Regions from separate parts of the Homo sapiens genome. Here region 1 is linked to region 2. The links are contacts of gene promoters, found by promoter capture Hi-C in blood cells and fetal thymus (Javierre and others, 2016). All regions are on one chromosome and are shown on one strand. Each heading gives the region's core, a stretch centred on a gene start or on the middle of the fragment in contact. The rest is flanking DNA. Distances are from core to core; before and after follow the strand shown. Region 1 holds the start of METAP1D (methionyl aminopeptidase type 1D, mitochondrial). Region 2 holds the start of FASTKD1 (FAST kinase domains 1).

Region 1 (6,123 bases), core at 1,523-4,022, 2.4 Mb before region 2:
GAATTTACCCTTCATTTTCAATTCTTGGGGGTGGGGAGCAGGAAAACCTCTCTGCAATTTAAAACTAGCTATGGGTAGTCCAAAAAGGGGCCCTTTCTCCATCATTAAAATAGCTTCCTGATGACACATTTTTCTTCTCTCCTCTAATCAGAGGATCCACTTCTTGGTTGTTGCAACACTTTGGGATACAGTGGGATGGATTATAGGAACCAATAACTTGGCCTGACTTCCATATAATATATTTTCTCAAGACTGTCTAAACCACCATTTGTCAAAATAATAAGTGATCAAAAAGAAAGAAAAGATTAATGCTATTTCTGTTATCTGCAAAGAGATGTTATATATACAGTTGGTGCAAAGTAATCACAGTTTTTGTCATTGATTCTAAAACTGCAATTACTTTTGTACCAACCTAATACATATATACACACATATAAAAATACGTTTATACATGCATAGGTGTATATATATATACATACATACACCTATGTATGTTTTCAGGTTGTTTTTTTTTTGGCTCCTCCTCTACATTGACTATCTCCTCAGATCCTTCTCACCATTACCTGAAGCATACAAAAATGAAGTCTAAAAGCCATGATTTCTTGTGAAAAGAGGAAACAGAAAAGTAATTAGTAAAGAAAGTTTGGACTGGAACCCAGATCTTTTTTTTTTTTTTTTCAGCTCACTACAACCTCCGCCTCCTGGGTTCAGGCGATCCCTCCCACCTCCACCTCCCAAGTAGCTGGGATTACCAGCATGTGCCACCACACCTGGCTAATTTTTGTATTTTTAGTAGAGACAGGTTTCACCATGTTGGCCAGGCTGGTCTTGAACTCCTGGCCTCAAGTGATCTGCCCGCCTTGGCCTCCCAAAGTGCTGGGTAATATTACAGGCATTAGCCACCTTGCCAGGCCTGGCACCCAGATCTTGAGAGATGTAAATTGGCTGTCTTTTCACAAGGCTACACTCTCATGCTGATGTCCATTCCTTCATGCAACCAGTCCAAAATGCTCGCTACATCACCTTCCCCATACACATCTCTCCCCTCAAATCTTCCTGTGGCCCCTTTCTCATCTCCACTAACACTGAAATACTGAAGTCTATTCGATTACCAACCTTCTTCCTCTCTAAAAATATCTTCCTCTTCACTTCTTATTTTTTATTATTTTTATTTATTTTTTTTTTCTGAGACGGAGTCTCGCTCTGTCGCCCAGGCTAGAGTGTAGTGGTATGATCTCAGCTCACTGCAACCTCCACCTCCTGGGTTAAAGCAATTTTCCTACCTCAGTCTCCCGAGTAGCTGGGATTACAGGCATGCGCCACCACGCCCAGCTAATTGTGTATATTAGTAGAGACGGGGTTTCACCATGTTGGCCAGGCTGGTCTTGAACTTCTGACCTCAAGTGAGCCACCTGCCTCGGCCTCCCAAAGTGCTGGGTTTACAGGTGTGAGCCACCGTGCCCAGGCTCTCTTCACTTTTTGTACACACTCATCCTGCACTGTCTCTGCTGAACTTTACACACTGACTTCTATGGAGTGACCACGTCATGCAGTACCGAGAAATGAGTCTTAAAAAAAAAAATTAGAGTCATGTTCAAATGAGCAATCTGCCTCTTACCATTTATGCGACCTTAGTAATGTTACTTAACCTCTCTAGCCTTACTTTTCCCTTCTGCAAAGAGAAAATAATTCCTAACTCACTGGGTTTTTGTTTTTGTTTTTGAGACAGGGTCTGGCTCTATTGCCAAGTCTGGAGTTCAGTGGTACGATCACGGCTCACTGCAGCCTCTTGACCTCCCAGGCTCAAGCGATCCTACCACCTCAACCCCCAGAATAGCTGAGACTACAGGCATGTGTCACCACGCCCGACTAATTTTTAAAATTTTTTGTAGAGACGGGGTCTCATTCATTGAGTTTTAAAAGGAAGCAAGCATATGTAAGGCGCTTAACACAGTATCGTGTACTTAAAAGGCACTTAATAAACAGTAGCTGTTACTATGAAAATAATATTTACCTCACAAAACTGTTCCTACATGCCTGACGCTTAAGTAGCTCCTCAAAATATGATAGTTTTCCTCTTCCCCCGTCCTTGGAAAAACTTTCTAGTTCTTTCCAACAAAGATTCAGCACCTAGTTCAAATCCAACAAAGATTTCCCCAATTCTGCTGCAAAGGCATTTGTATATTTACTAAAATCTCAACACTCACGCAGGATAAAACCTACTTAGAACTACCCAGACATCCTTTCTTATCTTCTTAACTTTAAGTCACTGGAAGAAAACCATCACATTTTGCAAGTCCCCAAAAAGCATGCCTGCATAAAAGCTCTAGGGAAGGGAACCGGGTGTCCAGATGCATTTCAGAATTACCATAGGTTTCCTTGCTCGGCATACAGAATAAATGTTGGTTACACTAATGATACAACCGAAGTTGGGGAAAAAAACTTCAGACAATGGCCCGCAAATCTCAAGGAGTAATTGCGAAAAGATGCCACGTGGTGACGTGTTCTAGGCGGGTGATCAGTGAACAAATTTGTATGTGTGATCCTGTGGTGTGTGAATGTGTCATCGTGTGTGCCTGCGTGTGTTCGTAAACACTGAAAGTACAGTCGTGTGCGCCGAGAAGTCTGAGCGCGGGTGCGCATCCCTTTGGACCCGGGTGCGTACCTAGTGAGCAACCGTGCGAACCCTCACGGGGCTCTCCTCCACGCGCTTACCTCTGCGGACGAGCAGGTGGACGCCACTGGGCGCCGCCATGTTGGCGTCGGTCACGTGGCCGCGAGCACTCGCTCGCCGCCCCGCCCGCTGGAGCCGGCCAGTCGCAGCCCTGCCGAAGCCCTGAGGCGTCGAGGCCGCCCGAGGGGAGCGCGCGTGCGCGCGCGGGGCTGACTGCGGGAGCCCTGGCTGGGAAGCGGCTAGGGCACCCGGGCAAGCAGCAGAACCCGCGGCCGGCTGAGTCCTCTCCAGCCGCGAGAGGCGGGCTCCAGCCGCGGCTCGCGCGCTCGCTCTGAGCCCCCGCGCCCAGGTGGGATGGAAGAAGCCTGTCAGGTAAGCGTGGCATCCAATATTTATAGCATCAACATTTTGGTGCATGGAAACGTGAAGTTGGGCGGAAAAAATAAAGCACAATCTAGTGTTCAACATAGCACTTTGTATCGTCTGCCACTCTGTTGCAAATTATTCCCCTGGATTCAGTTGAAAGGTAAAATTTGGTTCAAAGTCACCAGCTCCCCTTTTGCTGTCCCAGAATCTACATTACTCAGCAGAGACTCCAGACAACACAGGATCTGTGTGTCGCTGCAAAATCTATTCTAGGTACCCCAGTGGGTATGTTCAGGAGACTTCTCTTTCTCCAAGGACGCCTTCTGCTTGGCAGTATTAACTGGAGTCTTAATCCTAAATTTGGAGTTTAAGTATAAAAGGATGACGCCTGCCAATTGCATTGCCAAGAGAAGAAGCCTACAGAAGGCCAATTGTGAATCAGATGAGGGAGCTGATGTATGCCTACTGATGACGGTGCCCATTTTTACCAAATTCACTGTCTCTCTTACCTGTGTTCTGGGGTAGATGCCATCCTGTCATGGACCAGGTGTTATTCATCTTAGTAGCCTCCGTGCCCGGCACAGAACCCGATACCCGAGGAATGTCAGGTGAAGCAATTGAACACTGCATGAAACCAGTCAAACTGAGAATGTAACCGTTTCCAGACTTTAAATGCAGTGAAGATTGATTAGGATTCTCAGTGAATGTGTGTGATGTCTTCTAATTAATTTTTAAGCACTACACACTCAGTGAATAATCTAGACAATTCAGAACAATTCAGAAATAAGGAACAAGTGCAAGCCCCTTCCTCGCCCTCTGTACATACCATAGTCCCACTCCCCAGTTAACCACCGTGTGCTCAATTGAGATCTTTGCCTTTTACACACAGGCAAATGTAAGTATTTTAAATAGAATCATATGACTTGCTTTTTCCATTCCAGTCATCATAGGCATCAAATCTTAGAACACTTAGTTCAGACTTATTCTTTTTAATGACTATATAATCTTGATATTTTTACTTTTAAAGAGAGTGAATGTTGGCATTTCATTAGAGGACACATGCTATAATTCTGGAAAACCTGGTTTTGGATGCTTTTGGGTCACCTTGAAAGATAAAGAGAAGTAATGCTTTCCATCAGGGTAAATAAGATGCACAAGAATGAGAATAAAATGTACTCCTACCTTTTGCAAACTCATTTCAATTCCAGGGAGAGCATTTTTGAATGTGGCAAATCTGTCCTCTGTGTAACTGAGGCCAGCAATCTGAGTGCAGCAAAGGAGCCTGAGAGTTAGCTGGCCACAGAGTCTTAAGCAGTGTACAGAAAAAAGAAATCTAGACATCCCTATTCCTTAAGGCATCAAGCCTAGTTTCAAACCCATCTGAAATAGAACACATGTTCATGTGACTTAACTCAGCCAACCCTTGGAAAATAAATGAATGCTTTATTCCCCTACAACTAAAAGGAAAAGGAAACACTATGAGGACCCAGGTGGCACCAGCAGTAGTGGAATCCAGTGAGGAAATCCTCAATAAGTTCGGCATGGAATGTAGATATCTGGGATGAGCTAGAAATGAAGCAAATATGAACTTGCACAGGTGATAGCTCATCCACTGACCCTGGATCTGGCTTCTCTCATACACATCCTTCTCACCGCAGAAGGGTTAAAAGCTGCCAGCACATGTCCGCCAAAACCATCAACTTATGGGATATAAGCTGGGTGTGGTGGCTCATGCCTGTAATCCCAGCACTTTGGGAGGCGAACGCAGGCAGATCACTTGAGGTCAGGAATTCGAGACCAGCTTGGGCAACATGGTGAAACCTGTCTCTACTAAAAATACAAAAATTAGCCAGGCATGGTGGTGCATGCCTGCAATCCCAGCTACTCAGAGGCTAAGGCGGGAGAATCACTTGAACCTGGGAGGCAGAGTTTACAGTGAGCCGAGATCCTGCCACTGCACTCCAGCCTGTGCCACAGAGGAAGATTCTCTCAAAAAAAAAAAAAAAAGGGATATATACATAGTGACCAACAAGATAAAGGGCTAGATCACTGATATCTAGGATCCCTTGCAATTTTAACATTCTGTGATCTTGAGCATTAGAGTGCTTTTATTTAGATGAGTAACCGCTACTGAGTCACTTCTCTACTCCATTTCTGTCCGTGCTCCTATCTGTGAAATGAAGGTTAATTATATTATGGCACTTCACTGATTTGAATTCTTACCATTAGTCAGATTTTGTACTTAGGATTCTTGAATAAAAAATTGAATAATTCGGCCGGGTGCAGTGGCTCACACCTGTAATTCCAACACTTTGGGAAGCCAAGGCAGGAGGATTGCTTGAGCCCAGGAGTTGGAGACCCAGCTGGGCAACATAGTGAGACCCCGTGTCTACAAAAAATTTACAAACTAGCTAGATGTGGTGGCACATGCATATAGTCCCAGCTACTTGGGAGGCTGAGGCAGGAGGAGCGCTTGAGCCCCGGAGTTTGAGGCTGCAGTGAGCTGTGATTGTGCCACTGCACTGTAGCCTGGGCAACAGAGCAAGACTCTGTCTCAAAAAAAAAAAGTTGAATAACTTTTGAAAACCAGGGTTCAAGAAATAAAGGATAACTTAATACCTTCAGTTTATGTCCAAAAATTCATTCTTGAATGTTAAAATATTTTGATTGTGATTATTATTTTATAGGTCTTTACCTTGATTTTCAAAAGATCATGTCTTATTCACATCTTTTAAAATCTTTTTATTTATAAAAGATATAAATCAAATAAATTCCAATATGCATATTTTTGAAAAACCCATTTTTCCTTCCTCCTTCTTGAACTTAATATTATAGACTTATACCATGAGTGTGTCTAAATTTGTAGTTTGTAATAAAAGTTAAATTATGCAGGTTCTGTAATGTATGTATTGAATTTTTAATTGAATATTTGCATTTTTAAATGCTCTAAGGGATTATGTGACATGAAGTAAATAATTTTTTAAAAATGTTTGTCTTATAGTAAATAACATCATCTTGTAATTTGTCTCACAAGTTTAGATTTATATATATATATATTAGGATTACTATAAGATATTTGAAAA
Region 2 (6,954 bases), core at 824-3,323:
GGGGCTGGTCTCCAGCTCCTAACCGCGAGTGATCCGCCAGCCTTGGCCTCCCGAGGTGCCGGGATTGCAGACGGAGTCTCGTTCACTCAGTGCTCAATGGTGCCCAGGCTGAAGTGCAGTGGCGTGATCTCGGCTCGCTACAACCTCCACCTCCCAGCCGCCTGCCTTGGCCTCCCAAAGTGCCGAGATTGCAGCCTCTGCCCGGCCGCCACCCCGTTTGGGAAGTGAGGAGCGTCTCTGCCTGGCCGCCATCCCATCTAGGAAGTGAGGAGCGTCTCTGCCCAGCCGCCCATCGTCTGAGATGTGGGGAGCGCCTCTGCCCCACCGCCCCGTCTGGGATGTGAGGAGCACCTCTGCCCGGCCGCGACCCCGTCTGGGAAGTGAGGACCGTCTCTGCCCGGCCGCCCCGTCTGAGAAGTGAGGAGACCCTCCGCCCGGCAGCCGCCCCGTCTGAGAAGTGAGGAGCCCCTCCGCCCAGCAGCCGCCCCGTCAGGGAAGTGAGGAGCGTCTCCACCCGGCAGCCACCCTCTCCGGGAGGGAGGTGGGGGTCAGCCCCCGCCAGGCCAGCCGCCCCGCCCGGGAGGGAGGTGGGGGGGTCAGCCCCCCGCCCGGCCAGCCGCCCCGTCCGGGAGGGAGGTGGGGGCGGTCAGCTCCCCGCCCAGCCAGCCGCCCCGCCCGGGAGGGAGGTGGGGGCGGTCAGCCCCCCGCCCGGCCAGCCGACCTGCCCGGGAGGGAGGTGGGGGGGTCAGCCCCCCGCCCGGCCAGCCGCCCCGTCCGGGAGGGAGGTGGGGGGGTCAGCCCCCCGCCCCGCCAGCCGCCCTGTCCGGGAGGTGAGGGGCGCCTCTGCCCGGCCACCCCTACTGGGAAGTGAGGAGCCCCTCTGCCCGGCCACCACCCCGTCTGGGAGGTGTACCCAACAGCTCATTGAGAACGGGCCATGATGACAATGGCGGTTTTATGGAATAGAAAAGGGGGAAAGGTGGGGAAAAGATTGAGAAATCGGAAAGTTGCTGTGTCTGTGTAGAAAGAAGTAGACATGGGAGACTTTTCATTTTGTTCTGTACTAAGAAAAATTCTTATCCTGTTGATCTATGACCTTACCCCCAACCCTGTGCTCTCTGAAACATGTGCTGTGTCCACTCAGGGTTAAATGGATTAAGGGCGGTGCAAGATGTGCTTTGTTAAACAGATGGTTGAAGGCAGCATGCTCCTTAAGAGTCATCACCACTCCCTAATCTCAAGTACTCAGGGACACAAACACTGCAGAAGGCCGCAGGGTCCTCTGCCTAGGAAAACCAGAGACCTTTGTTCACTTGTTTATCTGCTGACCTTCCCTCCACTATTGTCCTACGACCCTGCCAAATCCCCCTCTGCGAGAAACACCCAAGAATGATCAATAAAAAAAATAAATAAATAAAATAAAAAAAAGAAAGTTGCACAGCATATTCCAACAAATATCAGTTTGGTACCTTTAGAGCCTTACTTTGTTGTAGTGATTATCAGCTGAAAATTATGTCTGTTGTAACTTTGGTAAGCATTCCACTTTGGTTATTTATTAGTGGTATTTTTTTTTTAAGTGTCAAGTGTCAAATCTTGGGACTATTAAAATACCATGGTAAGTAAAAAAAAAATATGGTCTGAGAACTGGTACCTATCCACGACATAAGTGCAGAAACTGAGAGTATGAGTTTGCATACTTTCAAAGTTACTCGACAGAGTTATTTCGTATATGCTAAAAAATAATAAGAAAAATCTGTACGTGTCTTTTCCATGTTTACATTTTTAAATTTCATTTTCCTAAGTATATTTTTGTGTATATTATAAAAGTAGTAGACTTCCAAGGACTAGGAGAACAACCTTAGATAGTAGAGAATCACCTAAACGACCTATATCTTCTTCAACAGCTTAAGCTGTGTACTGCGCTAGAGCCTCCCTCAATGAGGAACTACAATGCCCAGAATTCCCCCAAAATGCGTGAGCGACGTCCATTTCACCCACCTCGCCGCGACCCACCCTGGGATATGTAGTGCGTGACTTCCGCAGTGCACGCTGCGCCTGCCGGGCATTTTTTCCTGGTTTGGGGGCAAGGTCTCATGGGAAAGGTCATGTCTCTCGAAGAAAGGTTATAAACCCTGAGATATGAGGGTTGGGCGAGACATCCGAGCCTGTTTCGTTCCGTGTTGGGACCAGGAATAACCCTGACTTCTGAGCTTTCATAACCCCAGGATCCTCCAGAAAATTTGCGGCGCGCTGAGGGAAAACCTTGCTGGCAAGTCGGGACTGTGTGGCAGCGGCTATTTTTCTTTTCCCACCCAGCACGTTTTCGGGCTGGGGACATAGGGTTCAGTTGAGATACGGAGGCTTCCTTCGGGATATTGGGTTCTCTGAAGTGCGGATGGACTAGGGCAGGGCTGAGACCCCATTCATTCACTCATTTGTTTAGCTCTCCTTTATGCCCGGCGCAGAAGATACCCCTTAGGGTCCCAAGGCCCTTCCTGTAGTTAAGTTCCTTCCTTAAGGTCATTCAGCTGGGGCAAAGCTGGGGACTCGACACCTTTCTATGCTAACCATTGAGCTGCCTCCACTTTGAGCAGCTCAGTGGATGAATATAGTATCTTGAGGATACCTTTGATTTGTGCAGGGTTTTCTTGTGCAGGTTTGTGACCCAGGTCAGCTTAGGTCAGGATGCTGTACTGCTTGCCACAAAATAGCCTGTACTGTCGCGTCGTTTTTTCTTGTGAACAGACTGTTTGGCATAGCCGTAGAGAGGGGTCTGAGACATGAATTTAGTGATACAGCGTTGATTTGTTTGTGTAATGAAGCTGTTCAAGTGGAAAGAACTGAGTTGTAGTCCCTGCTTCACTAGTACTAGAAGGATTTTTTAAACCTTTTTGAACCTATTTTGCCTTATCTGTAAAATGGAAATAATATCAACCTGGAAGGTTAGCTGAGAGAATTTAATGAGATAATGTGTTTCAAACGTTCTTTGTAAATGGTAACATGTTGCAGAAATATTAGATTATATGACTTTAGTCCCTGCTTTTCTAACCATTACTTCTCAATTATAAATGTAAACATTTATAGCATATTTTTAAAACAAATTATTCTTTTTTCATAATTATCTTTAGTTCTTTTATTGTTTCAGCATGACTTGAAACATTACTTAATTTCTTAGTATTTCTTGATTGGTGCTTTAATTGTGTCGTTCATTGGTTAAAACCTATCCAAGGCCAGTAATGATTAAATTATATGACTTCTTTTATTTATTTATTTTCTAAAGAAAGGAATTATTTGAGCTCTTTAAGGGCACAAGAAAAAGGGGCAAGAAATTATCCTGAAAGCAAATAAACCTGAGACCATACTTCTGAAAAATTAAAAAAAAAAAGTATATATATATGTATGTATAAATATATATGGCTCTGAATTAATGCCTACACTTTTTAGAAACTTTGAAGGTGATTATTTATTTTAAACAATTTTCCTCTTTTTCGAAAAGACAGCTCTGAGTTTGTGGGCTTTTTTTTTCCTTTTATGGTAAATTTGAAAACTTTATGTAAATGTCAGATTTAAAACACTTTTAAAATGGGGTGCAGAAAGAAGCCCCTTTTTCTGGACATTTATTTTTTGATCAAATTCTGCTATCTGGTTTAGACTAAGAAAAAGTCTTTAGTTAATGCAGAAAAAATGTATTACTTTAATTTGAATTTTGGAATCATTTTGATATTAATGATGTAAGCATAACCATGTTAAACCAATTCTTTTATAGAAGCTGTACATTGGAATGCGTTTACAGTCATTGTAATGGAAGCAAAATACATGAAGGAAAAACTGTTATTTGTATCCCTGCTTATTGCACCTGACGACTAGTTGCAGATGGTTTTGTTTACCTAAGAAAACTTGTGATATAAATGAAAAAAACACCTGTTTTCCTAGAGTCATTGGTTACAAATATGCTTCGTCTAAGAGCTATTTGTCCATTCTCCTGGAGAGTGTTTCAATTTCGACCCATCAGTTGTGAACCACTAATTATTCAGATGAATAAGTGTACAGATGAGGAGCAAATGTTTGGTTTTATTGAAAGAAACAAAGCCATACTTTCAGAAAAGCAAGTGGGATGTGCATTTGATATGCTTTGGAAGCTTCAAAAGCAGAAGACCAGCCTGTTAAAAAATGCTGAGTATGTCAGAGACCATCCTCAATTTCTTACTCTTCATAATTTAGCTACAAATAAATTCAAATTAATGAATGACGATACCCTGGTGAATGTGTTATACGTCACACAACAGTAAGTAATTTACTTTTATATTTTATGGAATGATTATATAGTTTACATTTTAATTTTCTAAAAATCTCTTTATTTTCATTTTATTTATTTATTTTTGAGGAGTCTCTGTCGCCCAGGCTGGAGTGCAGTGGCATGATCTCGGCTCACTGCAAGCTCTGCCTCCCAGGTTCACGCCATTCTCCTGCCTCAGCCTTCCGAGTCAATGGGACTACAGGCGCCTGCCACCACGCCCGGCTAATTTTTTTGTATTTTTAGTAGAGACGGGGTTTCACCATGTTAGCCAGGATGGTCTTGATCTCCTGACCTTGTGATCCGCATGCCTCGGCCTCCCAAAATGCTGGGATTACAGGCGTGAGCCACTGTGCCAGGTCTAAAAATCTCTTCAAAATGAAAAATAATTTTTTTCACCAGTAGTTTTCCTGATAATCTAATTTTTTTGTTTTGTTTTGTTTTGTTTTGAGGCGGAGTCTTGCTCTGTCACCAGGCTGGAGTACAGTGGCACAATCTTGGCTCACTGCAACCTCCGCCTCCCAGGTTCAAGCAATTCTCCTTTAACAACTGTAATACTATTGTTAACTGTGGGCATTTGAAATTGGATTATTGTGGAGTTTTGTGAAAATGTGGTTGGCTGCAGATGAGGATATAGTAGGTAAGCAGTTAGATTTAAGATTAATGCCAGTCGGGTGTGGTGACTCACACTTGTAATCCCAGCACTTTGGGAGGCTGAGGTGGGTGGATCACCTGAGGTCAGGAGTTCAAGACCAGCCTGGCCAACATGGTGAAACCCTGCCTCTACTAAAAATACAAAAATTAGCTGGGCGTGATGGCAGGCACCTGGAATCCCAGCTACTCTGGAGGCTGAGGCAGGAGAATCTCTTGAATTCACGTGGTAGAGGTTGCAGTGAGCACAGATCATGCTACTCTACTCCATTCTGGGCGACAGAGTGAGACGCTGTCTCCAAAAAAAAAAAAAAAAAGTAATGCCTAATAACAATCAGCAATTAGTAAATTTTGTCTGTGATAACTTGTTTGCAATCTCGTTATTGTAATTAAATGGACGGCACATATGTTTTCTAGGGGGTATTGGTACAATAGGTTGTTTCTCAATAATAGCCCTTAAAAGGAAAAAGAAATAAAATGATTTTGTAGATTCATTTATATTTGATAACAATGTTATACAAATTATGTGGATGGTTGATAGGTATTACGTAAAGAAGGGCTTCCTTGGTGTCAGTGGAAAAACTCAGAGATAAATGTTAAGAAATATTACATTCCAGTTTTGGGATTTGTGAAGAAAAAATGAAGAGAGCAAAGAAAAAAGGAAAAAAAATAAAAAGAAATATGTTGTTTGCAAGGAAATCCAGCCTTCAAAAGAACTGGGTTCCCTGAATGAAGGCTTCAGCAGTTGTACAAGGGGGAAAAAACAAAAAAGTTACACCTAATCTGTTTATTAGTCTCACTGATGAAAAAGAGCAGTTTTCTCACATGATGACCCAACCTTCAGGGGTTATTTAAATGGCTGTAAATATCAGCATTACGTAAGTTAGAGACGTGTAAGTTGTTTTTGTAAGAGAATTGGCATTTATAGGAAAGGGGCTTGGGGCTTATATTGGGGATTGATGTTAAACTGAAAAAGGATGATTCCATGTTTTTTGGTGGCCTTTCTCAGGTTACAAAGTTGTTTTCTCTGAGGTACTTGAAGGGGATGCTTAAAGTTTTGTGAATAAGGTGATTGGTGACTATTAGCTTTTTAATTTTTTTACAAACATTTTCTTATAAAAATATTTTATTTATTTATTTATGAGGTGGAGTCTCACTCTGTCACCGAGGCTGGAGTGCAGTGGTGCAGTCTCGGCTCTCTGCAACCTCTACCTCCAGGGTTCAAGCAATTTTCCTGCCGTAGCCTCCTGAGTAGCTGGGATTAAAGGCACATGCCACCACGCCCAGCTAATTTTTGTATTTTTAGTAGAGACGGGGTTTCACCATGTTGCCCAGGCTGGTCTCGAACTCCTGACCTTAAGTGATCCGCCCGCCTCAGCCTGCTAAAGTGCTGGGATTACAGGTGTGAGCCACCATGCCTGATCAAAAGTATTTAAATCAGAACAAAGACATATTATATGTACTTTTAACATAAATATATTGTTGAACATTATCATTGGTCAGTAGCATGGGTATTGAAATAAGCAGATAAAAGGGTGAGAGGGCATGGGATAAAGTATAGATGTTTATTAGGCTGTACCAAAAAATCAGAATATTGAAATAAGAGTGGACCAGAAATAAGGACTGCCTGTATAAGAGGAAAATAACTTGAGTTTCACTTTTGCATTATCATTCGTATTGCATATGTTTTTAATGATTTTAAAATGATTATGTATGGAGGATTCTTTCTTTTTTATTAAGGTTTGCTGGTGAGGCCCATGACCCGCTAGTTGAAGCACTAGTTACAGAAGCATGGAGAAGGCTAGAAAGGCAAGTACCCTGGGTTCATCTTGAAGATCAGGGTTATTCTTTTCAGGGTTAACAGAGTGAAATCTTGAAGGGAAAGAACAGGGAACTGATGCCTGTCAAGCTTCACTGAAAAAAATGTATTTAAACTCAGTTTAGTTTTAAAGTTTTTGATTGTGTAATGTGTTGTTGTTTTTTTTTTTTTTTTTGAGATGGAGTCTCAC

The links. Contacts are between HindIII fragments. The CHiCAGO score rates a contact against its expected background, and 5 or more counts as called.
Region 1: a contact is called between the fragment with the promoter of METAP1D here and the fragment with the promoter of FASTKD1 in region 2, in 2 of 17 cell types (non-activated CD4 T cells and total CD4 T cells). The highest score is 9.2, in non-activated CD4 T cells.

What each region holds. Positions count from the first base shown.
Region 1 is chr2:171,996,602-172,002,724 of GRCh38, reverse strand. It overlaps METAP1D (methionyl aminopeptidase type 1D, mitochondrial), which reads right to left and starts at 2,772. Exons shown (of 10, transcript NM_199227.3): 1 at 2,716-2,772. The coding sequence starts at 2,755. It overlaps LOC124905590 (a long non-coding RNA gene), which reads left to right and starts at 2,816. Exons shown (of 3, transcript XR_007087296.1): 1 at 2,816-3,046. RefSeq lists a silencer at 2,778-3,077. The HindIII fragment of the contact is 8,153 bases long and covers 1-6,123 here.
Region 2 is chr2:169,568,984-169,575,937 of GRCh38, reverse strand. FASTKD1 (FAST kinase domains 1) reads left to right here and starts at 2,073. Exons shown (of 15, transcript NM_024622.6): 1 at 2,073-2,269; 2 at 3,767-4,285; 3 at 6,686-6,754. The coding sequence starts at 3,909. RefSeq lists enhancers at 1,862-1,961, 1,864-2,466, 2,322-2,491. The HindIII fragment of the contact is 12,279 bases long and covers 1-4,141 here.